Linked DNA regions of Homo sapiens: regions 2, 3 and 4 are each linked to region 1. Evidence: promoter capture Hi-C in human tissues and cell types (Jung and others, 2019). All regions are on one chromosome and are shown on one strand. The core of a region is centred on a gene start or on the middle of the fragment in contact, and the rest is flanking DNA. Distances in the headings are between cores, read along the strand shown. Region 1 holds the start of PROZ (protein Z, vitamin K dependent plasma glycoprotein). Region 2 overlaps ADPRHL1 (ADP-ribosylhydrolase like 1). Region 3 overlaps MCF2L (MCF.2 cell line derived transforming sequence like). Region 4 has its middle 8.9 kb from the start of MCF2L-AS1.

The links. The method cuts DNA at HindIII sites, captures the fragments that hold promoters and counts their contacts. A contact is called where the count stands out against the background at its distance.
Region 2: a contact is called between a fragment that was not itself captured here and the fragment with the promoter of PROZ in region 1, in 5 of the 25 tissues and cell types used here (H1 embryonic stem cells, IMR-90 fibroblasts, heart left ventricle and 2 more).
Region 3: a fragment that was not itself captured here is called in contact with the fragment with the promoter of PROZ in region 1 in 7 of the 25 tissues and cell types used here (H1 embryonic stem cells, IMR-90 fibroblasts, aorta and 4 more).
Region 4: a contact is called between a fragment that was not itself captured here and the fragment with the promoter of PROZ in region 1, in 2 of the 25 tissues and cell types used here (IMR-90 fibroblasts and dorsolateral prefrontal cortex).

The regions. Positions count from the first base shown.
Region 1 is chr13:113,153,606-113,160,295 of GRCh38, reverse strand. PROZ (protein Z, vitamin K dependent plasma glycoprotein) reads right to left here and starts at 1,648. Exons shown (of 8, transcript NM_003891.3): 1 at 1,566-1,648; 2 at 119-282. The coding sequence starts at 1,635. F10-AS2 (F10 antisense RNA 2) reads left to right here and starts at 6,310. Exons shown (of 3, transcript XM_011537532.4): 1 at 6,310-6,382; 2 at 6,526-6,690. The coding sequence starts at 6,310. It overlaps LOC124903216 (a long non-coding RNA gene), which reads right to left and starts at 5,796. Exons shown (of 4, transcript XR_007063880.1): 1 at 5,431-5,796; 2 at 5,181-5,239; 3 at 4,416-4,479; 4 at 3,686-3,766. RefSeq lists enhancers at 434-1,011, 1,588-2,165 and a silencer at 5,880-5,929. The HindIII fragment of the contact is 7,105 bases long and covers 1-3,916 here.
Region 2 is chr13:113,396,377-113,402,681 of GRCh38, reverse strand. It overlaps ADPRHL1 (ADP-ribosylhydrolase like 1), which reads left to right. Exons shown (of 8, transcript NM_001394807.1): 8 at 1-3,071. Among named protein-coding and RNA genes, the nearest start is that of GRTP1, 35 kb to the right of the region's middle. RefSeq lists a silencer at 4,354-4,648. The HindIII fragment of the contact is 6,890 bases long and covers 1-6,305 here.
Region 3 is chr13:113,007,509-113,014,121 of GRCh38, reverse strand. All of the region lies in intron 1 of MCF2L (MCF.2 cell line derived transforming sequence like), which reads right to left. It overlaps LOC107984591 (a long non-coding RNA gene), which reads right to left. Exons shown (of 2, transcript XR_001750037.2): 2 at 3,786-6,613. Among named protein-coding and RNA genes, the nearest start is that of MCF2L, 42 kb to the right of the region's middle. RefSeq lists an enhancer at 1-7. The HindIII fragment of the contact is 8,660 bases long and covers 1-6,365 here.
Region 4 is chr13:112,956,502-112,963,023 of GRCh38, reverse strand. It overlaps a transcript of MCF2L not described here. Among named protein-coding and RNA genes, the nearest start is that of MCF2L-AS1, 8.9 kb to the left of the region's middle. RefSeq lists enhancers at 1,180-1,903, 4,625-5,365, 5,366-6,105, 6,106-6,522. The HindIII fragment of the contact is 9,655 bases long and covers 304-6,522 here.

The DNA of each region.
Region 1 (6,690 bases), core at 399-2,898:
CCTCATCGGTAAGTAAATAGGCTAATTAATTAAGCTTAATCTCTGAGAAATGATGCTCCCTGGGCCAGCAGAAGTCTAAATAATGAGGAGGCCTGTGGTTTGTGGTGGGGGTACATACAGTGACTACTTCATTTTCAAACACTTCTCTTGCTTCTTCATAGACACAGATTTCTTCATAACATTCTTTTTCCAAGTTTCCCTCGAAGAGTTCTTCCAGAAGATAGGAGCCCGCACGCTTCCACCTCACCAGAACGTCGTTTGCTTTGGAGGCCGGGAGAAATACTACAGACGAGACAAGAAGGCAGGTGACTGGGAGCACCGAGGGCCCTGCTTTCCAGAGCTGCCTGGCTTCCTCCCCGGCCGGCCGCCAGCCCCAGCCCCGTCCGTCTCCACAGGCTCTCAGCCTGCGAGGGCCTCAGGGCCACCCCGCTACTCCCTCCCCCGAGGTAGGCAAGCACTTCATCCTCTGGGCGAATGGATCAGCCCCAGGATCAGTGCGGATACACTAAGGTTCTGCAGAGAGGCCACGGGCCTCAGTCAGGAAAGTGGAGGAGGGAGGGCTCCAACTGGGTTTTGGGTCTGAGTGCGAAGGAAGGCTGAGCTGGGGTCAAAGGTCCCCGTACTGAGAACTGGGGACCAAGAGCCATCAGCTCCTGTGCTGCCTCTGTGCGCAGCATTTAACATCTTGATAAAACACATAAAGAAGAAACTTATACATTGCAGCAGGCTCTGCGATTTCCAGGAGGAGAAGGCAAATGAGTTGACCCGCGGCAGTGGTCTCTGGAGCCTCTTCCCACCTGAGGGTCCCAAAGCATGTTCTCTCCCTCTCCGGGAGGGTCAAAGCCCAGGCCCTTCCCATCCTCCCTCCTTTTCTCTCGGTGCTGAGGGTTACAGCAGGGGGGGCTCAGCTAAGTCCGGCTACGGTAAGTGCTGGGCAGGGCAGGGCGGGGGGATCACCCTCTCAGGGTGGGAGACCATGGGGCCAGCGGGAGACCATGGGGCCAGCGGGGATGCTGGGTGTTTTGACTTGCAGCTTTCCTGGACGCCTGTGCAGGCAGAGTCAGAATGGAGTCCATGTCGTTCCTTCAGTGAAGTGGCTGGTGGTAGAAGGGTGGCAGGCAGGCAGGGTGGCTGCTCCCTGGCTATGTCTCCTGACTCAAGACTGGGCATTCCTGGCTGGCCTGGCCAAGGCTCTCTCTGCCCACATTGCAGTCTGGGCTCAGCCTGCCCCACCCCCTCCCCTCGTCCAATGCCCAACCCAGGCCTCCCCCCACTCCTCCCCCTTTCCCCCTCCCCTCTCCCCGGCCTTTCCCGGCTGAATCCCCTGCACACAGGCTTCTTTCCATTTGGGCATCTCTTGGGAGGACCCCAAGTGACACTATCATGTCCCAAATACTTGTCACCAAATGATAAAGATCCAAACAGCTTTTTCAGGGGAATTAAGACTAGTCTGGGCACTCAGGGCTCCTCTGGCTCCTGGAAAAAGCCTCATCTACAAATCCACCATGGACCGAGTCAAGAAAGACACAGCACAGGCACAACAGACAGGTAAGCCAGATGCCTACCTGAGGGCTCCACACGATGGAGGGCGAGGACCAGGACCAGGCCCTGGAGCAGTGGGACGCAGCCTGCCATTCCCACCCGGAGCGCTGGGACAGGGCTACAAACACAGCCAAAGTCCAGGCTGGGGGAGGTGCCGGCAGCAGGAGCCTCGGGGCACGACCTGTGCAGCTGTGTGCTTCCCTCCTGACGTTTTCTGTTTGAGGCCAGGCAGAGAAATGAACGGTGAAGGCTCAGAGGACCCTGGGAGATATTTAGGGAGACAGAGAACAGAAGGTAAAGGCAGCAGGTGCAAGGTGGAAGGTGGCACCCATGCCCGTGTGTGGTCAATGGAGGTGAGATAGGCCCTGGGGACACAGCACTGGGCGGGACAGACAAAGTCACATGCAGCTTACGTTCTAGGTGTGTGTGGAATACACAGAAAAGAACGAGGGAAAGAGACAGGAGGGAGTGAGGGAGGGAAAGCAGGAGGATGGAAAGAAGGAAGGGGAGAAAAGGAAGGGAGGGAGGGAGGAGGGAGAAAGCGGGGAAGGGCCAAATAGTGTCTGTCACTACAGCTCAGCACCATTGTAGCAGAGGCAGCATAGACAATCATGAATGAACACTTGGCTGTGTGCCAATAAAGCTTTATTTATAAGAGCTATTAAGGGGCCAGATTTGGCCCCAGGGTTGTCGTTTGCTGCTTTCAGATGTAGGCCCTGTGTATTAGTCCCTTCTTACACTGTTATGAAGAAATAGCCAAGACTGGGTAATTTAAGAAAAGAGGTTTAGTTGACTCCCAGTTCCACATGGCTGGGGAGGCCTCAGGAAACTTATAATTATGGCAGAAGGCACCTCTTCACAGGGTGGCAGCAGAGAGAATGACTGAAGCAGGGGAAATGCCAGATCCTTATAAAACCATCAAATCTCTTGAGACTCACTCACTATCCCAAGAATAGCATGGTGGAAACCACCCCCATGATTCAATTACCTCCCACCGGGTCCCTCCCAGGACACGTGGGGACTATGGGGATTACAATTCAAGATAAGATTTCGGTGGGGACACAGCCAAACCATATCAGCCCTTGAAGCCTGAGGTAAGAACCTGGTGTTTCATTTTCACTGTGTTGGGAAGATATTGGAGGGAACAGGAATTGACATGGAAAGATTTGTGCTCTGAAGGGATCACTGGGCTGCTGTGTGGAGAACAGAACATTCCAGAGAAGTCAAAAGGGAGGCTGCCGGCTAGTCCAGGAGGGGGTGAGGGTGCAGCCATGCAGCAGGAAGCACGTTTGCAGTCTGGATGCTTCAGGAAGGGAAAGCTGATGGGATTCATGATGAATTGTGTCGGGCAGCACGGCTCCAAGGTTTGGGCTGAGCGATTGGGAGGATGGCAGTGCGTGTGCTGAGACGGCCAAGCTCCAGGAGGGCAGAGGGAAGCGAGGTTTGGCAAATTTGAGGTGTCTGTGGGATGTCCAGGTGGAGACAGGAGTGGGCATCCGAGAAGCTGGGACTCACAGTGGAGATTCAGGTGGTAACAGATGAAATGACAGCATTGTCAGCATATAGATATTGTTCGATTGAATGACACTCAAAGGTGGCAAAACTCAATGAAAGGATTCTAAATACAATTTTGTTAAAGTGGGAACAGAAGAAAACTAAGAAGCTGACACCCTTGATTAAGAGGGCATGCCCGCAAATACACTGAAGTTGTGAAGTTTGCTTTAAAAAGCTGGGAAAAGAAAATAAAGTTTATCTTTAGTGAGTGAGTTAAAATAATTTGAAAGCCAGAAGTTGATTGTATAGGATAGCTCTTGGGTGAATTGCACCAGCCTGGCAATCTACGTGGCCTTCACTTAAGAAAAGGTGCCTTTTTTTGTGTGAAAATGTATTCCCACATGGAAATTTACATTAAAAATACTTCTGCTGGATAGTTTAAAAACCATCAATAGCTGCCTAAAAATGGAAAGGCAGACAGGGACATACACATTCGATCAATAAGTGTTAATTAAGCACATCCTATATGCCTGACATGGGTATCTGAGCTACAACCTCTTCCCTCATGGACCATTTTAGTCTGTTGGGGCTGCTGTAACAAAACACCTTAGAGTGGGTAATTTACGATAAACAGAAACGTAGTGCTCACAGTTCTGGAGGATGGGAAGTCCAAGATCAAGGCTCCAGTAGACTCAGTGTCTGGTGACGGCCCATGATTCATAGACGTGTCCTTGGATGGTGGAAGGGAGGAATGTGGGTGCTCCCTGGAGCCTCTTTTGGGAGGGCAGTCATCCATCCATGAAGGCAGAGTGCCTCCCAGAGGCCCCACCTCCTAGTACTATTGCACAGGGGGTTAGGTTTCAACGTGAGTTTTGGGGGATGGTTTGGCTCTGTGTCCCCAACCAAATCTCACCTTGAATTGTAATAATCCCCACAGGTCAAGGGCAGGACCAGGTGGAGGTGATTGAATCATGGAGGTGGTTCTTGTGATAGTGAGTGCATTCTCACAAGAGCTAATGATTTTATAAGGGGCTTCCCCCTGTGATTGACACACATTTTCTCTCTCCTGCCACCCTGTGAAGAGGTGCCTGCTTGCCATGATTATGTTTCCTGAGGCCTCCCCAGCCATGTGGAACTGTGAGTTCATTAAACCGCTTTTCTTTATAAATTACCTAGTCTCAAGTATTTCTTCACAGTGACATGAGAACAGACTAATACAGGAAGGCATCAACATCGAGGCCACAGCTGTGATTGACTGTGTTGTACGTGGACTGACCGTGTTGTATGTGGTGATTTAATTTTCTCATCTGCCTTCTCAAAGATACCACCTTTGGACCAAAAATTCTACAATAATAAATTGTCCAAACATTAAGATTCACCTCGTTCTACTCATCTTCCTCATCTCTCATATGAATAATCGTTCTTCTGTCACCCTCTTCTGTTCTGAAAAACAAACCAACCAACATTGGGACACTTTTTCCATTGACTGGTTTACTTTCCTTCTGTATACCTGAGGAGAATCTTCCTTCCTTTGGGGTCTTTGTCGTGTCCTTCAGATGTTGGGGTGTCCTCTGTGGGGGTCCCCAGCTTAAATCAACTGACCCCACAACTTTGTGTGGAACCTGAAATGAGCAGCCTATGGAGAACCTGGTCATTGAATACTTAGATCTTGCCGCAGTCCCTATTTAAATACCTGTTCAATCAACTCTGGGACCTATGTTTTAGATTTCAACATCTCTGAATTGGCCTGTTCCCTACAGCCAATGTTCTAATGTCAGCCTGGACAAGGCCGAGTTCTTCCTGAAAGGGGTTGTGCTTTATGTTGCCCCCTGGGGGCACTGCCACTTTGCAATCCCTTTAAATACATTTTTTTGTGTGAGTTTTGGGAGCCCATGTGAATAGTGTAAATGTATTGCAAAGCTGGTTCCTGGCTGGCCTGTGGTTTAGATTATCTGAGCTTCCCCCTCTTGCCTCCAGGCTGAGCTGACCCACAGCTAATTTGGGTATATGCTCTTTCTTTCAGGTTCATCAATAATGGTGCGTCTTAGATTCACAGAGTAGAGTGTGGTCTAGTCCACTTTGTGGTGCTGTAACAGGATATCTGAGACTGGGTAATTTATAAAGAACAGAAATTTATTTCTTACAGTTCTGGAGGCTGGGACATCAAAGGTCCAGGGGCCCCCATCTGGCGAGGGCCTTCTTGCTGCGTCATCCCATGGTGGAAGGTGGATGCGCGTGAGAGAGAGAGAGAGAGAGAGAGAGAGAGAGAGAAAGGGGAGAGAGGAAGGGGGCCAAACTCATCCTTTTATTCCAAAATAACGAACCCACTCCTACAATAGTGGTATCAATTCATTCACGTGGGCTCTGACAATGAATGCGTCTTAAAGGTCCCACCTCTCAACACTGTTGCCTTGGGATTAAGTTTCCAACACGTGCACTATAGGGACACATTCAAACCACAGCATGCTGCATCCTCTGATGTCCACATTGTGGATGGAGGTGGCAGCTTATCACCTGGAGCTCCTGAAGAAATTAAAGAGGAGACACATGGTGACGCAGCCCACAGCCTGGCGTTTTTAGCATCTCAGAAGCACTGACAGGGACCCGCAAGCTTATGAGAAACTGTTCAACTCATTGGGCTTCCTCAGAGCTTGGGAGACCATTAATGTGGAAGACACTATCTGGACATGTTTCTCTTTTTTCCACCTGTCTAGATTTTCTTTCAGGATCGGGGAGACTTCTGGAGTAGAAAAGCCACTCCAGAACCCTTCCTCCTCCTCCCCCACACCCCGCCTCATGAGCGGCTGCCCTCCGCGTGGCATGGAGTCCCCGCGTCCACTCAGAACCCTTCCTCCTCCTCCCCCGCGCCCCGCCTCCCCCGCGCCCCGCCTCCCCCGCGCCCCGCCTCCCCCGCGCCCCGCCTCCCCCGCGCCCCGCCTCCCCCGCGCCCCGCCTCCCCCGCGCCCTGCGTCACGTGCCCCTGCCCTCCCCGACGCCCCGCCCCCCACGCCCCTCCTCCCCCACGGCCCGCCCCCCCACGCCCCTCCTCCCCCACGGCCCGCCCCCCCACGCCCCTCCTCCCCCGCGCCCCGCCTCCCCCGCGCCCCGCCTCCCCCACGCCCTGCGTCACGTGCCCCTGCCCTCCCCCACGCCCCGCCCCCCACGCCCCGCCCCCACGCCCCGCCTCCCCCACGCCCCGCCCCCCGCGCCCCGCCTCCTCCACGCCCCGCCTCCCCCACGCCCTGCGTCACGTGCCCCTGCCCTCCGCGCAGCATGGAGTCCCTGCGTCCCGGCTCCACGGTGCGGGAGTCCTCCGTGGTGGCTGAATTCGCCTTTCAGGCCCTATGTTCAGGATTTGTGATCTGGGTTTTAAAAACATTTTTTAGAAGTCATTGGTAATTAAAAACAATAAGTTTTTTATTGTGGTAAAATAGACATACAGTTTACCGCAGGAATCTTTTTTTAAGCGTACAGTTGGCTGACCCTGAGTGAATTCGCTGTTGATAATCTGCTTCTCCCTGAGCTGCTGTCGCCCACACTCGCCGCTGGCCGTGCTTGTTTTTCTCCTGGAACTGGGGCCGGTGTCCCTGTTGACCTTGTCCCGGGTAGCTGAGCCCAGGGGACTCTCCTTCCTAGGGTTACCGCTCAGTATCA
Region 2 (6,305 bases), core at 2,068-4,567, 240 kb before region 1:
AGGGACAGTGCAGAGCCGTGGGAAGCCAGGATCCCAGGGAGGCTTCGTCTGGAAACTGGGTGCTGGGAGAACGAACGGGAGCCTGCCCGCCCTTCCCTGCAGTCCCTGTGGGTGGTGCCACTGGTGCCGGTGACCTGAGAGCCTCGCTGTCTGTCCTCCGTCCTCCCGAACAGCATAGAAGTGTTTCCTGCCCTGGCCCGAGACGGCCCACGACTCCGGCCCTGTTCAGGTACTGAGGTAATGCATGTTCAGGCTGGAATATTTGAATGCTGTCTAGAGGCACAAGAAGGAAATCAAAGCCACCTGTGGTCACATTGCCTCGAGATGGTTTTTGTTGCTACTCTGGACTATTTTTTAGGCTCTTCCTCCATGCACCTATTTTAAAGCACATTCTTCCCCATGATGGAGCCATGCACCTCCGTGTCGCGATCCATCGTCCCAGGCCACTCGGTGGCCTCTGAAACCCGGACCCGTGAGGCCACACGGCTGCCTGAGTGGCCCCGGAGCAGCTGGATTTTCAGCGTGAACCGATGCAGCCTGTCGCCCTACAGCCCCGCACCCTTGTTTTTGGTGGTGCCCTCCCTGTGGAAAGTTAATTCCTGCTTTTTGAAGGTGTCTTGGCATCTTCTGCCTTTGCTACTGAGCGGTTTCCTGAAACAGCCCTAAGCGTTCGCAAAGGCGCTTTGGTGCCTGCTGCGAGCACCTGTTTTCTGACTCGGATGTTCCTTTAGAGGAAGGTGTTTTCCAGTGTCGGCCCTGAGAGGGCGTTCAGCAGGCGCGTCCTACCCACGCGGGGCTGAGGTCTCTCCTTCCAGGGAAGGTCCATCCCGGCAGACGCCAGTGGCTTTGGCTCTGCAGCGCCAAGGAGGCGGCGTGGCGTCATGCTCCGGGGAGCGCACAGGTTTCCTTCCAGTCGAACAATTAACTTCAGATCCAGCAGGTTTGACCCACCCTCACCTGCTGGGACATGCGAGTGCTGGTGTCTGGAAGGAGGGCCGGGCTGTGCTGAGCTCTGGGGGGCCGGTCCCCACAGCTCCCCCGACAGGGCCCCCGGGGCCTCCTCTATAAATCAGGGGTCCGTGCTCCCAGCCCGCTTCGAGGGGTTTCTGCTTGGCGTGTGGGTTCTAAGTGCGAGCTGCTGTGTGTGGAGGCTCCTGAGCACCGGGTGCCCCTCGCGCGTGTGGGTCCCGGGGCAGCCCAGCTGCACACAGGATGGTCCGGGGGTGCGGGTGGGGGCAGAGCTGAGCATGGCGTGTACTTGGCCACAGAAGTCTTGCTGTGGTGCCGCTGGACCCCTGCTAGGAGGACAGGGTCCCCTCTCTCACGAAGCACACGGACCTCCAGAGTCCCTGCCCCTGCAGTCCTGGGAGCCTGCAGTTGGGGCTGGAGTTGGCCTCTCGGAGCCACCCAAACGGAGAGGCCCATGAGAGGGGAGCTCAGGGGTCCAGCAGAGGCTGACAGAGTGGCCTCTTTGTCCTGTTGGCGGCCCCTGCTCATGCCTGGGGCGTCCTCCCTGGAGCTGGGGGAGCTCAGGGACCCCCAGGTCTGTGTGGCTGCCCCTGCCACTCCAGGCACAGCGGCACGGCCCTCACTCTTTACCTATTTGGAATTGGAGGCAATGAGTGGCAAGAACATGATGACAGACACGGGAGGTAAAAATATGTTCACTGGCTGTTCCCTTTATAAATAAGAAGTGGTGGGACTTGCGCTGCTATTTTTAAATAGACCAGAGAGTACACTGGAGAAGGCATTGAGTGGTTTTATTTTAAGTGGTGGAAAAAATGATGAGAATCTCCTCCAGATGACAGCTCCGGAAGTGTCGTGCCTGAACCCCTCTCACAGTCTGGCGGGCGCAGAGTCTGTGAGCGGCCAGGAGGCCACCTGCTCGACTGGCCCGTCCTCTCCATGTGCCAGATGCAGCCCAGCATGACACTGCCCTCAGCTCAAAAACAGCACAGCTACTCTGTGTGCAGGAAAAAACTGCCAGTGACTTCACCAGGATTTGAGAACGGTCCGTACGTTCACACTAAGCTGAGACAGCGCAGGTTAGAAGATAGCGCGGGGAAGTATTCACACTTCAGATACGACCATCACGGCCACATGGCTAAGGCCCACACCCTCCCGGGGTGAAATAACTACAGCAGAAGAATGGGGCGCTAACCACCTCCACGGGCATTTTAAATAAAACCCAAAGTTGTTTTGTTTTTTTAAAAAAAAAAAAAAAGAAAGAAAGAAAGTGGCCGGGCACGGTGGCTCATGCCTGTAATCCCAGCACTTTGGGAGGCCGAGGCAGACAGATCACGAGGTCAGGAGATCAAGACCATCCTGGCTAACACAGTGAAACCCTGTCTCTACTAAAAATACAAAAATTAGCCGGGCGTGGTGGTGGGTGCCTGTAGTCCCAGCTACTCGGGAGCCTGAGACAGGAGAATGGCGTGAACCCGGGAGGTGGAGCTTGCAGTGAGCCGAGATTGCGCCACTGCACTCCAGCCTGGGTGACAGAGCGAGACTCCGTCAAAAAAAAAAAAAAAAAGAAGAAAAGAAAAGAAAAGAAAACAGGATATTTATTTTAGCTTCTTAGTTAACATCATTAATTTTGTGTAGTTGAGCGACTCGTTGACTGCCTCCTCCCTGCAGTTTTTTACGGTGCCTCCGGCTGTCGACAGGCCCACTGTGAGCCGCAGGTCTGTGGGTGCAAGTGACAACAGCCGGGCGGGAGGCGGTGCACTCAGGCGGCAGGAAGGTCCCGAGACGGCGACGAGAATGTGGTCATGTTCAGGACACTCGCTCAGGGAGGGTCGTTGTCTGGGATTTTACACGCTCAGCACCACCTCCTTATTCTGTTCTCAGGGTATCTCTGCTGTTGGAGTTACGGTCTTTCGGTTGTGTATTAGGCTACAGCTATTTATTAAATTTGTTCTTGTTCATATTCTTCTTTGTATATAAACAACCCTAAAATGGGTTAGTCAGAAAAAATTACTAAATGTCATTTGTTGTATTCTCTCTGTATTTTTACTAACATCATTCAGCTGGAAATAATTTCAAAAAGAAATAAAATACCTTTCCCATTACAAATCTCTTCCTTGCATTGTTGAAGCAGCCGCATAAATGAAGTAGGACTCAGGCCTGGGGCGAGGGGCAGAGCCCCCATCGGGTGAATGTGGCCAGCCTGGAGCAGTGATCCTGGGCAGGAGGGAGGGTCTGGGGCAAGGCCCCAAGTGGGAGGAGAACTCCTTAGGATGTGCTTAGAGAGACAAGGCCATGCACTCCCCAGACCCTCTCTTGGTCCAGTCAAGACTGTGCCGGCCTCGGAGCAAGACCCAGGGAGCTGGACTTCGGCCACTGCACCTGGGCCGCGGGGGGCCAAAGGGCTGGGGTGTCCTCTGGGACACGGAGGGAGACTGGACAGAAGGGAGGGAAGGAGTATGGGTGCAACGGGCCCAGCAGGCCTGTGAGACACCCTCTGCCCTCCACTACTCTGTATGCAGGAGAACTTTGTAAGTGACTTTTCATGAGGATTTAACAACGGGTGGTTTAAGCTCACGCCAGACCTAGCTGGGAATGCCTGCATTCCAAACCCCTGCTGTGCCCGTGGGTGGCGCGGGTTCTTGGCATCTTGTGAGGAGGAAAGCTTGTTCCACTGAAACGAGCTGATGCCTCGTGTCTGAGAGCACTGGCCCGGCAGCCGAGGCTTTGGGATGGTGCAGGCACCTCTTGTCCTGAAAGAAAACCCCTGTCAATTAAGCTATGACACAGGCTTTCATTAGAACTTTTATTTTATTTTATTTCATTTATTTATTTTGAGACGGAGTCTCGCTCTGCCACCCAGGCTGGAGTGCAGTGGCGTGATCTCGGCTCACTGCAAGCTCTGCCTCCCGGGTTCACGCCACTGTCCTGCCTCAGCCTCCTCAGTAGCTGGGACTACAGGCGCCCGCCAAGACGCCCGGCTAATTTTTTGTATTTTTAGTAGAGACAGGGTTTCACCACGTTATCCAGGATGGTCTCGATCTCCTGACCTCGTGATCCGCCTGCCTCGGCCTCCCAAAGTGCTGGGATTACAGGCGTGAGCCTCTGCGACCGGCTAGAACTTTTAAAAGCACTTATTGAGGGCGTCTGTGAGACTGGTGTACATAGAAGTCTGATCAAACCCCATTCTTGGGATATTGTTATAAGCTTGGGGTAGACAAATGTTTCCCTGAACAGAAGAAAAAGCCCCAACCACAAAAGGAAGTGCCGGGACATTTGTCTGTTTGAGCGTCGGTGCATTTGCTGAATCTTTATGGCCGCCATGGATTTTTGACAGGAATGGATGTCACGTAGCCCCCAAAGCCCAGGACTGAGCAGCTGAGCAGTGCACGCCGTTTCTCTGACAGCGAGAGGACTGGCCTGGCTCAGGTCCACAACCCCAGGCGGTGTCTGGGAAGCCACTCGAAGGCACAGGAGCCTACTAGAAGCCCCATCTGTGCACACCCCAAACTCGTGAAAGTGCCGAGGCATCTTCTCCTAGAAGAACAAAGGAGGCCAAGCGGGGAGTGAAGGCAACAGTGTCTACAGTGGTCCGTTTCCAAGACAAAGTGCCTTGAATCGGCTTAAGTCAGCAAACTACAGAAGAAACAGGAGGTCCGAGGCCCCTGCCTGGATCGCCAGTGCCTGCTTGCCGGCCTCCCCTTCTCCCTCCCTTCCCCCCGGCCCTTAGGTGCTCTCACCTGAACTAAAGAAGTTTAGTCTAAGATAACAGTTTACTAGCCTGCAAAATAGCTGGCTTTGTCTGTTCTTATCAGCCTGCCCAGCTACTTAGGTCATAAGTCAAATACTTGAAGAGCCCCTGGGCTGACTGGGATTGCAATGCATTGTGGGCTGCAACAAAATGCAACAGGACACCCCTAAAAAAAACACCTACAGCCCCTGCCCAACAACCAATAGGTGACGTCCCAGAAGACTGTGACCCCAGAGTACTCAGCCTGTGAGGAACCCGGGGAGACACCTGTGCACTAGGGGATAAATTATTTGTTGAAACTGTGCTGGCTGTGGCTGCCCATCAGACACCCGATCTTGCAAGACCATCATCAACAGTCTCACTTTCAGCCAGGTGCAGTGGCTCATGCCTGTAATCCCAGCACTTTGGGAGGCTGAGGCAGGCAGATCACAAGGTCAGGAGTTCAAGACCAGCCTGACCAACATGGTGAAACCCCGTCTCTACTAAAAATAAAAAAATTAACTGAGTGTGGTGGTGTGCACCTGTAATCCCAGCTACTCAGGAGGCTGAGGCAGGAGAACTGCTTGGACCCGGGAAGCAGAGGTTGCAGTGAGCCGAGATTACGCCACTGCACTCCAGCCGGGTGACAGAGCGAGACTCTGTCTCAAAAAAAAAAAAGAAAGAAAGAAAGTCTCCCTTTCACTCTCCTCCGGGTCTCCGAGTCCTTCTTCTGGGTTTGGACAGATGAGTTTGTTTCTCACCACTTGAGACCAGGAGTTCCAGACCAGCCTGGGCAACATAGTGAGACCCCGTCTCTATTTAAAAATGAAAGTAAAATAAAAAATAAAAGAACAAAAGACCACAGGTCATGTTGTATTGAAGAGCGGAGAAAGAGCTGTTGAATTCTCTGGATGGCTGTTTCCTTACGGCCTGTACCACTGGAAGTCATGTCTTAATCCCCAACTGGAAGAAGGCGCTCAACCCACCAGCAAATCTGCACGTAGGGAAGAATTTTCCAAATCTTGAAGAAATAAGAACCCAAAAAAAGCACCAAATAAGTTACAGATTTCCATTGCTCAATCAATAATGATGATGATAAAATAATCAAGAAGCCGGGTGCGGTGGCAGCACCTGTGGTCCCAGCTACTCAGGAGGCTGAGGTGGGGGGATCACGTAAGCCTCGGAGTTTGAGGCCAGCCTAGAAACATAGCAAGATCTTGTATCTTAAAAAAAAATGAATAAAATGTTAAAAAATAAAACAAAATAAGAAACTGATGAAATTCTTGGACTTTGATAACGGCAGGAAGCCGCACACATACAGGAAGAACAAAGTCCAGAAAGAGCTGACGGTGGACGCCCAAGAGAAGAGGCGGCTTCTGCGAGCTCTGTGTCGTTAGGAAGGGAACTCGGCTTCATTTCAAATTCCAAAGGGGCTCAAACATATGAATAAGACCCCAGTCTTTCATGGGAGCCCCAAAAGTGGGGCTATTTTTCTACGTTTTGACAGCTCCCCACAACATGAATCCTGTCTTCTCTCTGCACGGCAGTCCCACATCCCACATCCCCAGCCTTCCTTGCTGCTGGGACGCATGCAGCTCTGCCAGGGAGA
Region 3 (6,613 bases), core at 786-3,285, 150 kb after region 1:
CTGGCTGGGAGCACGGGGGGAGCATGGGGCCAGTACCAGCTGGGAGCACTAGGCCAGCGTCAGCTCGGAGCATGGGGTCAGCACCAGCTAGGAGCATGGGGCCAGCACCAGCCAGGAGCACGGGGCCAGCACCAGCTGGGAGCACTAGGCCAGCATCAGCTCGGAGCATGGGGTCAGCACCAGCTAGGAGCATGGAGCCAGCACCAGCCGGGAGCATGGGGCCAGCAAGACCCTCCAGGGAAAGCTGTACGGACTGACAGGCTGGTGGTCTCTGCTACAGAGCGGCTGCCAGGCCACTGTGCCTGGGGGACACTGACCACTGACCACGGAGCAGACACGATTTCTGGCCAACGCTCTCATCATATAGCCACATTTGCAGTCTTGAACATCCACACAATTTCTCTCTAAAAGATGCAGGACTCACGCTGATGACCTGAGAATGGCTTAAACGCTCAATTTTTCCACACCTGAGGACCCAGGTCACTAACAGCCTGAAGATATGGGACAGAGGTGTTTGTACCTGGAAATTCCCAGCGGAGGCTGCCAGATAATATCTACCTGGCATCAGACTTAAATCTTGCTCTTCCAGTCTTGCAGACAAACAAGTGTAAACACGGGACACAGTGGAACACAAAGGGGCCCCTCCTGGGCCGTGCTGGCTGCGGCCCTGCCAGCTATGGGACTGCTTTGCCTCCGAGCCAGACACAACCCTGGTGTTGGGGGGGAAGCAGCAGGGCCACGGTGTCATGGGACCTGCCAGAGCCAAGCAGATGTCAAGGCCCTTCCCCAGAGCCTTGCAGGGCGAGCTCAGGGCACAGACCCATTCCCAGTACGCAACCACGTCTCGGCGATGGCTTCTTTTGTGGGAGAAAGACAGAAACAGTCAATCAGTAAAGCATGAAATACTATCTCATGCTCCTGGCAAGGTGACTTCCACTGGTGCACACCTCTCTGGAATGTGTGTCTGGTGCAGCCGACGGCAGCCTAGACTGCGCAGTTGGATGTTCAGATTTTACGGTAAGTTTTTCTCTCTCACCAGGAGCGACTGTGACCTGAGAGGAAACCAGGAGGCACTGTCCTCAATCCCCTGCCTGCCTCACAGACCGTGGGGGCACCGTCCGCATCACAGTGTCCACCGTCCACACCGCCTGTCCACCGTCCGCATCACAGTGTCCACCGTCCACACCGCCTGTCCACCGTCCGCATCACAGTGTCCACCGTCCACACCGCCTGTCCACCGTCCGCATCTCAGTGTCCACCGTCCACACCGCCTGTCCACCGTCCGCATCACAGTGTCCACCGTCCACACCGCCTGTCCACCGTCCGCATCACAGTGTCCACCGTCCACACCGCCTGTCCACCGTCCGCATCACAGTGTCCACCGTCCACACTGCCTGTCCACCGTCCACACCACCTGTCCACCATCCACACTGCAGTGTCCACCGTCCACACCGCCTGTCCACCGTCCGCATCACAGTGTCCACCGTCCACACCGCCTGTCCACCGTCCGCATCACAGTGTCCACAGTCCACACTGCAGTGTCCACCGTCCACACCACCTGTCCACTGTCCTCATCGCAGTGTCCACCGTCCTCATTGCAGTGTCCACCATCCACCCAGCCTGTCCACCGTCCACACCGCCTGTCCACCATCCACACCACCTGTCCACCATCCGCACTGCAGTGTCCACCGTCCACACTGCCTGTCCACCGTCCGCATCACAGTGTCCACCGTCCACACTGCCTGTCCACCGTCCGCATCACAGTGTCCACCGTCCACACTGCCTGTCCACCGTCCACACCACCTGTCCACCATCCACACTGCAGTGTCCACTGTCTACACCACCTGTCCACTGTCCTCATCGCAGTGTCCACCGTCCTCATCGCAGTGTCCACCATCCACCCAGCCTGTCCACCGTCCACACCGCCTGTCCACCATCCACACTGCCTGTCCACCGTCCGCATCACAGTGTCCACCGTCCACACTGCCTGTCCACCGTCCACACCACCTGTCCACCATCCACACTGCAGTGTCCACTGTCCACACCACCTGTCCACCATTCACACTGCAGTGTCCACCGTCCACACCACCTGTCCACTGTCCTCATCGCAGTGTCCACCGTCCTCATCGCAGTGTCCACCATCCACCCAGCCTGTCCACCGTCCACACCGCCTGTCCACCATCCACACCGCCTGTCCACCGTCCGCATCACAGTGTCCACCGTCCACACCGCCTGTCCACCGTCCGCATCACAGTGTCCACCGTCCACACCGCCTGTCCACCGTCCGCATCACAGTGTCCACCGTCCACACCGCCTGTCCACCGTCCGCATCACAGTGTCCACCGTCCACACCGCCTGTCCACCGTCCTCATCACGGTGTCCACCGTCCACACCGCCTGTCCACCGTCCGCATCACGGTGTCCACCGTCCACACCGCCTGTCCACCGTCTGCATCACAGTGTCCACCGTCCACACTGCCTGTCCACCGTCCACACCACCTGTCCACCATCCACACTGCAGTGTCCACCGTCCACACCACCTGTCCACTGTCCTCATCGCAGTGTCCACCGTCCTCATCGCAGTGTCCACCATCCACCCAGCCTGTCCACCGTCCACACCACCTGTCCACCATCCACACCGCCTGTCCACCATCTGCACTGCAGTGTCCACCATCCACACCACCTGTCCACCGTCCACACCACCTGTCCATCATCTGCACTGCACTGTCTACCTGCTGGCAGCCCGCAGTGCCTCTGGACTCTCTGGGCCAGGACAAACTCTAAATATTGTCCCTCAGATCAAATGCCTCATTTTGGGTATGAAAAGCAGGGATCCCCCTGTGTGTGATCAGAAACTGCACACAGCTAAGCCCTCATACAAATAAACTCTAAAATATCGCTACATCTGAAGTGGTCACTGGCCACTCTGTGAACCTGAAGAGGCCTGTGGATGCTCTCTGACCCACACCAGAGTGTTGGCCTTCTTCCGTTCTTCATGGAGGCCTTCTGCAGGCGGGGCCCTGGGATTTTCAGGGCGCTGGGCGTTTCTTCCATTTATGTGTGTAAGTTTTCATTCTTCTTGATTTTTTGAACCCACTCAAGAATGATGGGAAAATCTGCCCTTATGATCATAGTTTCTTTAAAAGTTCCAGTCTACTTAATTTTGCAGCCATAAGACTAAGAAGCGCACGGAGGAACAATAGTGGCCACTCAGTTCAGGAGACAGGTCCCCAGAGGAGATGCAGGCAGGCGAGCATGGCCTCTGTGGGGCTCTGTGCTGTCAGACGTCTGGGAGGTGGTGGGCCCCTGACCCGTATGTGCCACCCAAGGCCAGGCCAGGCCCAGCTCCCTCACTGAGCCCTGCTCCAACCAACTCCCCAGTGATGACCCCACTGCTCAGAGGCAGGTCTGAGAGGGGAGGGTTAGGGCCTCACATCTGAGGCCCGGCAGAGGCTGCCCCGTCCATTCCCCTGCCACGCGGGCAGAGGCAGCAGGTGGGGCCGACGAGGGGGTGGCCAGGCCTGCCCCTGCCCATCCCCAGCACCGACCACAGCAGCCCCACCTGGGAGGGCCAATCTCTTCTGGCCACTACGGGGACGACGTGGTGAGATTTCCCAAGCGTGGGAAGGGCAGAGGTGCCCTTGGCTCACCTGATACACAGGTGAGGCCCCACCACTGACTTTTCCTCACAGAAACAGGGTCCTGGCAATGGCAGTCCAGGGAGGGGGACCATGTGTCTATCTTTAGATCTCTTTGTTCCAACAAAACCAGACGACTGAAGCAAACTTCCTTCCTCTTGCAAGTTGACTCAAAAGCTTGCTTTATTTGAGGACAATTTCATCCTGAAAACCAGGAGCGGGGTGTTGCGGGGTGGGAGGGCGGCCAAGACGTCTGAGCAGTATCCCAGGCACCCCTTCCAGCCCAGGGTGACCTCGAAAGCAGCAGAGAGAACGGGGACTGGAGGCGGGTGGGCCCTGGAAATCCTCTCATGGTGCGGGTGGGGGGGGTATGGGGGGTGGACTGTCACAGGTGGAGGCAGCAAGGCAGCTCCTGGCAGCAGGAAGAGGCCCAGGTGCAGCAGGAAACCCCGTCCCTGGTGCTCACTGGTGACCGTGGGCAGAGGAGAGGACAAGTCTCTCCACACAGCAGCCTGGGGCCATGGGGTACAGTCCATCTTTTGCCAATTGTCTTCTTTTATTTATTCTGGCAAAATGCCCATTCCCAAAGGCTTCTGCATCCTGTCCATCAGACAGGACAGTCGTGCCTTTTCAAAGTCCAAGGCTGAGCGTCAGATGGGATTACGTCACCAGATCATCCGGCCAGAGGCCTTCCCGAAGCCCATCCTTGAGGATCTCCAAACCCAGGAAGAACAGGGCCACAGAGCAGGGCAGTAAGAAGAAACGCAGGCCACAAAATCGGAACAAAATCTAAATTCAGTAAGGAGGATGCTTGAAACCACAGCCTTCAGATAAGGACACCCCAGGAGGCCAGCATCCCCGTCCCCTCCAGACAAGCTCCTGACACTGTGTGGGTCAGGGGATAAACAGGACACCCTGGGGGCCAGCGCCCCGTCCCTGCCATTGGGACAAAAGGGGCGTCCACACCTCTGTTTGTGATGTGTGTTAAAGGATCTGTTTGATTTTGCATTCCCGATGTTTAAGGTTTATCCTGACTTGGTTGGCAGAATTCTCACTTACATTAAATCTCAAATATGTTTAACGAGCCATTTGCTAGTGGGTTAGGTATAAATATTTCATGTCACATACACAGTGACTTAAATCACATGGTTCACTAAATATTATTTTTCTGATCTCAGAAAGCTTAACCTTTACACATTTTAAAAATACAAGGCCCTGCCAGAAAAGATGGTCAAAAGAAGCGGTGATCAGGGAAACCCCGCTCCTACCGCAGGGGCGTCATCTCAGACGCGCAACACCAACCGGCAAGGGCCAGGAGCCGGCGGACTCCCACGTGGGGGGCAGGTGTCAGTGCACAGCCGCCCCGCAGAACCCTCCGGACGCCCTTTGGAGTGAGACAGTTTGCGCCTCGGGCAGGGAGGACTCGCACATCCGCACTTGGCCAATCTCCTCTGGGGGTCGTCTCCAGAGCTTCGCTCTCCGCTCTCCACGCTGCCTCGCCCGCCCGCCCGCAAGCCCTGGGGGCCGTCTCCAGAGCTGCGCTCCCTCTCCACGCTGCCTCGCCCACAAGACCTGGGTTCTCTGATGCAGGCGGGCGTAAGAATCCCCTGGAGCGTGTCCTCAGCACACATGGGTGTGTTGTTTGGGACCAAGCTCCTGCCTAGACCCCAACAGATCAGACTGAAAATCAAAATGAAGTCCCCACACTCCAAGGGAAACTGAGTTGTTATCGGACCTTGGAGAAAACAGGAGACAGAGGAGAGGCCAATCTTCCAACCAGGCCAGGCTCTGTCTTCCTCGGCGTGGTCACGGAGGTCCCTCTTTTTGTTGTTCTTGCTCTCAACTTGTTTAATATGTAAAAGGACAATCAAAACAGTGGTCAGAATTTCCACTTTTGATACATTCTTAGGATGCAGCCCATCCAGAGAGCATCACTTCAAATAGATGAAGAATTACCCAACTTTTTCTGTCTTAAAGACAGTTTGCTTAGATTTTAAAAAGACTTAATTCCATGAGTTACGGCACTGAATTTAACCATGAGAATTAAATATAAAAACATGGAGGCTCTGAGCTGCCCGCAGAGGTGGGACTCCTATGAGGGTGACTGCTGGAGTCCAGGGGCTGAGACACAGCCACTCACAACATTACCGTTCCCCTGTAACAAAGGGTTAAGACTTTATCATAACTTAATTATACATTCATTATGGTGCTTTAAAACAGTCAAGCCTAAATAAATTCTTCACACTGCCAAAAAGATACCCGTACTTGGCCGGGCACAGTGGCTCACGCCTATAAATGCCAACACTTTGGGAGGCCAAGGTGGACAAATCACTTGAGGTCAGGAGTTCAAGACCAGCCTGGTCAACATGGCGAAACCCCCTCCCTACTAAAGATACAAAAATTAGCTGGGCATGGTGGCAGGTGCCTGTAGTCCCAGGTACTCAGGAAGCTGAGGCTGGAGAATCTTTTGAACCTGGGAGGTGGATGTTGCTGTGAGCTGAGATTGTGCCACTGCACTCCAGCCTGGGTGACAGAGCGAGACTCCATCTCAAAAAAAAAAAAAAAAAAGAAAAAGAAAAGATACACATACTAAAAACCCATTTAAGCACAAAGTTTGTCACGTGACGGCTCTTGGTCTGGGCCACACGTGTGTGCAGGGATCTTCTGCTTCTTCAAGCTTGATGTAAGTCCGGCAATCACCTAATGTGAAACTGATCCTTACGACACAGAGCCGCCTGAAGTGGCCAGTGGGTCACGTCTCTCCCGCCGACTCCCCAAGCTTACAAAGGACAGTGACTGAGGCCGCCGAACCGCGTTTGCACAGTTTCTGCTTTCCTCAGCCCTGTCTGTACAGCCGGCCCCGCACTGCGTGTTTCACTGGAGCTCTTAATTCTAGTTCATGGAATGCAGTGCTGCCCCACTCTAGAATCGCCAACAAAGCCCAGTGAGATCTTTAAATTACACGGATTGCAATTT
Region 4 (6,522 bases), core at 3,882-6,381, 200 kb after region 1:
GTTCTCACCCACGGGACCCACCCCTTCAAACACCTTTTAGCTGCTCAGAGAGGGGAAGCACACCCCGCATCTGGACAGGCCAGATGCTTGGTCAGCAGTGGGTACCTACGGGATTCTTCCTGGAAGAGCCAAAATGAAGGCAAAGATGCCTGGATTCTGGGTTCAGCAAACTACTGTGTTGAGGGCATCGGCTGCCTGGGGGGCTCCCCTTCTGCCTGTACCCTGGAGAAAGGGGCAGAGCCGGTGCACACGGGGGGCTCCTTCCTCATACCCTCTCTGGGTAGGGGTTGGGGCCTTCCCTCCCAGAGCCTGGGGGGAGGTCCCGGGAGAACGGCTAGGGAGCTGGGGCCTTCAGGGGTTTTGCTCCGGAGTTAGGCCTGTGCTTTGCCCAGCAGCCCTAAGCTGAAGGAGAGGGAGTGCCTGATTGCTGCGGTCTGGGCAAGAAGGGTCTGTCCATGCTGTCAGGTGTGAAGGCTGCACTGGCCAGGGACCAGGCCTGGGCACCAGGGATGTGGCCACCAACTGGGTCGGCTAGAAGTGAGGCCCACCCCCATGGCTGGCTCCTCACAGCACAGCAGGCCCAGCCGACACCACACAGGGACCGCAACCCACCAGCACATGCAGGCCTCCGAGGAGACAGCACCACCTCACTAGATGGAAAATCCACATGTGTGTTTGTATGTGTGTGTGCAGGTGTGTATGTGTATGTGCATGTGCCTGAGTGTGTGTACATGCGTGTGTGAGCATCTGTGCCTACATGTGTGAGCATGTCTGCATGCAAGTGTGTGTGCATGTGTAAGTGTGACTGTGTGCAAGTGTGTGAGCATGTTTGTGCATGCGTGTGTGTGCATCTGTGCATGCACAGGTGTGAGCATGTCTGCATGAAAGTGTGTGTGTGCATGCATGTGCGTGTCCGTGCGTGTGTGTGCATGCCTGGGTGTGAGCGTGTTTGTGTGTGCATGTGTGTGCGTGTCCGTGTGTGTGTGTGCATGCCTGGGTGTGAGCCCATGTGTAAGCGTGTTTGTGTGTGCATGTGTGTGTGCATGTCCCCTCGCTGTGCAACGGAGAAGCTGGCGCAGGCAGAAACTGGAGGAGGTGGGTGAGTGAGGAGCAGAGCGGGAGGGTGGGAGTGAGGGTGAATGAGTGGCCTCTCGTGGTCACAGCAAGGCAGGAGGCCCCTCTGATTCCGTACCCCAGCAGGCCATCCATCAGTGGCCTCTCCTGGGCTGGGGCGAGGACTCAGTGTCACAGGAAGCACCTTCCGGAAGGACCTGAACTAGGAGGACAGAGGGGCTCACTGAGGGTGACTGCAGCTCCCGGGAAGTAGCAGTGGGGATGCCCTCAACAGCCCAGCTGTGTGTGTGGCCACAGACATGGGAAGGAGGGCTGCAGGTCCCGGCCAGGCCATGGCAGGAAGGGCCTCGAGAGGGGTGGGCTCTGGCCTGGGCCTGGGACCCCACACCAAGCCCACAGCAGCAGGAAGGGAACGGCAGGGCCAGTCCCACCAGGCCTGACCATGTTCCCTGAGGAGGAACCAGAGCTCCTCAGATTTTAGAGGAAGACTTGAGGCCCTGTCCCCCAGCCCTGCTGCACGATTACCCCTGGGGAACCAGGCATCTCCTCGCAGGGCCAACCGAACCCCAAGGCAGAAGACTGCTCGTGGGAAGGCAAATGCTTGCCCAAGTACAAAGCAGTGAATACCTGCAAAGATCACTCGACACTTTCAAATTAGTGCCCAGTTGTATTTTATTATAATGACAATACAATAACAGCAGAGTCACTTCATCACATTTTGTATTATTTTAAGACTTGGTATATGCAGAAAGCTTAGCAGCCCGCATCTTCAGAAGTCTTCAGGGCTCTGCCGTGTGCTCACATGGACACACGTGGAGAACAGGTGCAACGTGGAGGCATAGCAGATGCAACGTGGAGGCATAGCAGACTCCCCTTGGTAGGAATGCATGGGAAGAGCAGGGTCAGGGAGGACCCCAACATCCCTGGAAGTGTGTGTTTTGATGCCTGGTCACTGCAGCCCAAACACTGGAGGCCCCTCAGGGGCCCCCACTTGAGCTGCGGCACGGCCTGCAGTCACTCACGGTAGAACCTGGGCCCCCACGTACCACAGAGAGCCATTGGGGGCTATCCAGGAGATCCAGGGTCATCCCAGGGTCCTTCCAGCAGGGCAGCAGGAGGCTCAGGCAGGGAGGAGATGTGAGGATGGATGTAAGGGTCTGGGTGGTGCGGCCATGAGCCCAGGAATGCAGGCAGCACCTGGGGCTGGACAGGGCGAGGAAAGGATTCTTCCTGGAGCCTCCAGAAGGGACTAGCCCTGCTCACACCTTGGTGTTAGAACTTCTGGCCTCCAGAGCTATAGACCATGAATGTGTGTGGTTAGCCAGTGTTTGCAGTGATCTGTCAACTGCAATAGGAAACTGACACAGCCCTGGACACCGAAACCCCAAAGCCCCCCTTCCCCAGAATGACAGCCTATCCCGCCCCCTTGGAGAGAAACTCCAGCATCCATCACACCCACATTTCAATGCAACAACCAAAATGAGCAGGGGACAAGGCAGTCTGCTGGGGTTTAATGTGTCCCCCAAAGGTCGTGTGTGGGAAACCTCACCCCCAATGCCGCCGTGCTGGGACATGGGGCCTAAGAAGAGGTGACCAGGTCTGAGGACCCTGCCCTCATGACTGGACGAGCGCTGTTTCAGTTGTGAGAGCGCGCTTGGCCCCCTCTCGGTCTCTCCGCTCTCTCACCGGGTGAGGCCGTCTCTTGGAAAGACGCAGCTCAGGGGCCCTCACCAGATGCAGCCCCTCAATCTTGGGCTTCCAAGCCTCCAGGACCATGAGCCAACTAAACTTCCATTGTGTGTAAATTACCCAATCTGTGATACTCTGTTATAGCAGCAGAAAACAGACAAAGACACAGCCCCTGAGGGCAGGCGTCCGGGACAGAAGGCCTCTGCCCTGAAGTTACCGAGGGACCTCGGTGACACAGGCACCTCTGCCGCAGCCCGACGCGTGAGAACAGAGAGAGGGCTCTCCCCACACCTGCAGGAGGTGCTGCTGCCGTCACAGACAGCACAGGCCACAGCGTGTCCACTGTGCATCTCCCATGATGGAGACAGGCACGACCATTCAGAAAGCCTCGTGAGCCTGTGTGCACTCCAAATAGTCTAAATTCGGTTTCCAGCACCGGTGCGTTGCTGCTGTGGACACACCATGCCAGGCCACTGTGCAGCTTGGTTGTCGTGGGTGTGTACTGCACGTGGGTTGCTACCAATAATTCACTTTTGGGTTTTGACATCCCTCTTGCCAACAGATATTCCCCCTCTGTCTATGCTAGAGGAATGAGATATTCCCTCTAATAGGGAGAAAATCTAACCTAGAAGTCAAACGCATGGAAACATGGAGAATACCTTTGAACAGCTCAGACCTAGACAGCCATGGACAGTATCCTCCTGTCCTATTGTTCTGTATGCTGCCAGGAGTTCTCCCCCCAGGATGACCCTCCTCCCTCACTGCAGGAACAAAGCACACTGTGTTCTCGAGAAGGAACAGCTTCCCAGAGAGAGGAAACCCCTAAACACCGAGGCCGTGCCAGAGAGTAAGGAGAACGCGCTTGTTCTGAAACAAAGGACCCACTGATGTCACACCATGTCCGAGAAACTCTCGATGAGAGCCCCAGATGGCAGGATGTATAATATAAATATAACTGACACGCCAACTGCTGGGGCCAGAGTGGAGAGACCCGGAGGACGGGGGGTGGTGAGGGAGAACGATATGAGGGTGATCCCAGCACAATTCATTAAATTCTTTCTAAAAGAAAAACTAGAGGAAAAAAGCATATGGTATGTCTTGAACAAGCAGAATTGGTAAAAACAAGACTTTAAAAATTAAACTGGAACTTTTCAGATAAAAACCTCTAGGTTAACATTTATCCGCAATACCACTACCAGGCATTTGGGATGCGACGCTCATTCTGTGCGTACGGAAGTTTCTGGAAGAGGCATAGCGGCCACAGGAGACCTCTGCTTTTCCTGCAGGACCCCGGTGCTCTCCGGGGGGAGGTGCAGCCATCCTCCCGCCCAGGATTTGCTTCCACGGCAGCTTCTGTGTTCACGGCTCTCCCACGAGCCATCCAGACCCTGTGCGGGAGGGTCTCAAAGAAGTCACCTTGAGCCTCCAGGTGCTCTTAGCCCCAAGGCAGAACCTGGAATCCCACCAGGAGGTGCCTGGCACACGTATCCCACACACGAGCAGGGCTGGGGGCATTCCAGGCCTGAGGAGCTGCATGAGGAGAGGCCCCAGGGGTAATGAAGGCACGGGAAGTAACAAACCCTAGGAGACAGCAAATGGTCCATGCGGTCAGCCTGGGCGTGTGCCAGGCAGGTGGCCAGGAAGGAATGATGCATTTCAGGGAAATGAGGAAGGTGAGTCAGGATGCAGCCTGGTCTTTGGTGGGTCAGGGGTCAGCCTGCTGAGGCCCCAGCCCCCGCCACCCAGTCCCACCCTCGTCGGGGGCTGTGCGGGTGTCGTGTGGATGTGGCTGATTAACACCTGCGGTCAGCTGGCTCCGAATGGAGCATGTGCCCCTCCACAGTGGGCTGGGCCTCATTCAATCCCTGCATGGCCTTAAGAGAATAGGACAGGGTCCCCCGGAGAAGCGGACACCTGCCTGCAGACTGTCACATGGAAATCCTGCGTGGGTCTCCAGCCTGTGTCTGCACTACTGAGGTCAGACATGCCAGCCGCACAATTACATAAGCCAGCCCATGACACGGGGCACAGACGAACCACGCACGTCCACGCATCTCCTAAGGTTCTGCTTCTCTGAGAATGCAGCAGGCCTGGTCTCGAGAGCCCAGGAAGAGCTGAAAGTCTTTATTTGTTGGCACAAGAGGCATCAGGGAAAGAGAAACACCTCAACAAACTGGCATCTGAGGAAGACTGACGGCGACAGCTGGGGAACGTCCCAGGTAAGGGAGTCAGAAGAGTTGGATGCTGAATGAAGAAATTTTAGGAAAATCTAACCAAGTTATTTTGCTTAGCTTCCCTTTGTGTATATACAACACTGATAGCAAAAATCTGAATAAGGCAAATAGAGCTCTTTAAGTATAAAATAAAAACTAAGTGATAAAATTAAATTCACTTTCTTTGAGTTGCTCAAAGCATTATTCTAAATGAAATGTATGTTAATTCACTTCACAAAAGTCATCCACCAAAGCAGAATTCCCACATTAGGATACACAAGGTGGAAGAAGAGACTACAAGGGTCATAGGTTAGAGGTAACTTAAGTTATAAAAACCCATGAAAATGAGATATTGTAATAAAAACACACACACAGAAAAGTATGTAATACATGAACCATATTCTACTTCATGAACAAAAAAATCAATAAAACAAAAACCTGACTGGAATAAGACCTTGAAACAGCACGACTGGCCACGTCTATCTGGCGTCTATCTGGCGTCTATCTGGCGAGGAGGCGCGGCATGGAGTCCAGGGTGGAAGCCCAGCTCACGTGGCTCAGGACCCCGGGGCCTCGGCCTCTCATCTGCAAACCAAGATTAAACTAGGGCAGTAAGATCCTAAATCTCTATCGTTCTATGAAGAAAGTGGGCCAAAAAGTCCAAAGCCTCTACAGTTTGGAGACATCACAGCTGACTGCTGCTGACTGATGAGCACACATGTGAACTCCATTTCTGAAAATACTGCGTCCTCTAAAAGGAAACCAGGGGCCCCAGAAAATGCCAAGCATTGACCGCCTGTGCTGCGATGGCATTTGTAAGAGCAGCCCCTGCTGAGCTGAGCGTACTGTCTGTGAGCAGCAGGGGCCGGTAGGGGAGGATTCTCCCATTTGTGCAGTTCAGTTAGAGCTCTCCAGGGTCACGTCAACAGATAATGCACCATTATCCTTTGCTCTCGGGGGCGGCCTGTAAATAAGGCTCTGCACACAAAATCACAAAGGCATCACAAGAACGACACGCAGTAGCCACTGTTCCTCAGCAGCCATGAGGTGGGCAGAAACACACACATGCTTCTAAAACATGCACCAATGGGCAGAATGTGACCAGATCTGGGTATTGAATGCCTTCCTGGCTGTAAGTAAGGCTTGGTTTACTCGGAGCTGATGAAATCCAGAGATGTCATACGAAATGCATGTAGAGTTTGATAGGAAAACCTCATCGTGTGTCCCGGTCAGGAGAGTTTAAGGAGTGTGAGAGTGTAGACACAGCAGGCCTGGATTCCCAGCAGACCTGGCCTCAAAGTGGACAACCTCGAGGCTGGACCTGGATGCGCCTAGCAGGGCGTCACCTATGTGGCCAACCTCGCTGCAGCAGCAGCAGCTGCTCCACACAGGTCTGCATCCGGCCACTGTCCCAGCAGCCTGAAAGCCGCAGCCACTGGCAGGGAGCTGTGCACTGTCCTCCAGCATCCTCTGAAAACTCTGCCTCCTCATCATCCGTGGGCCAGACGCTTCCAGCATTGCTCGATTTTAACAATGAATTTTATAA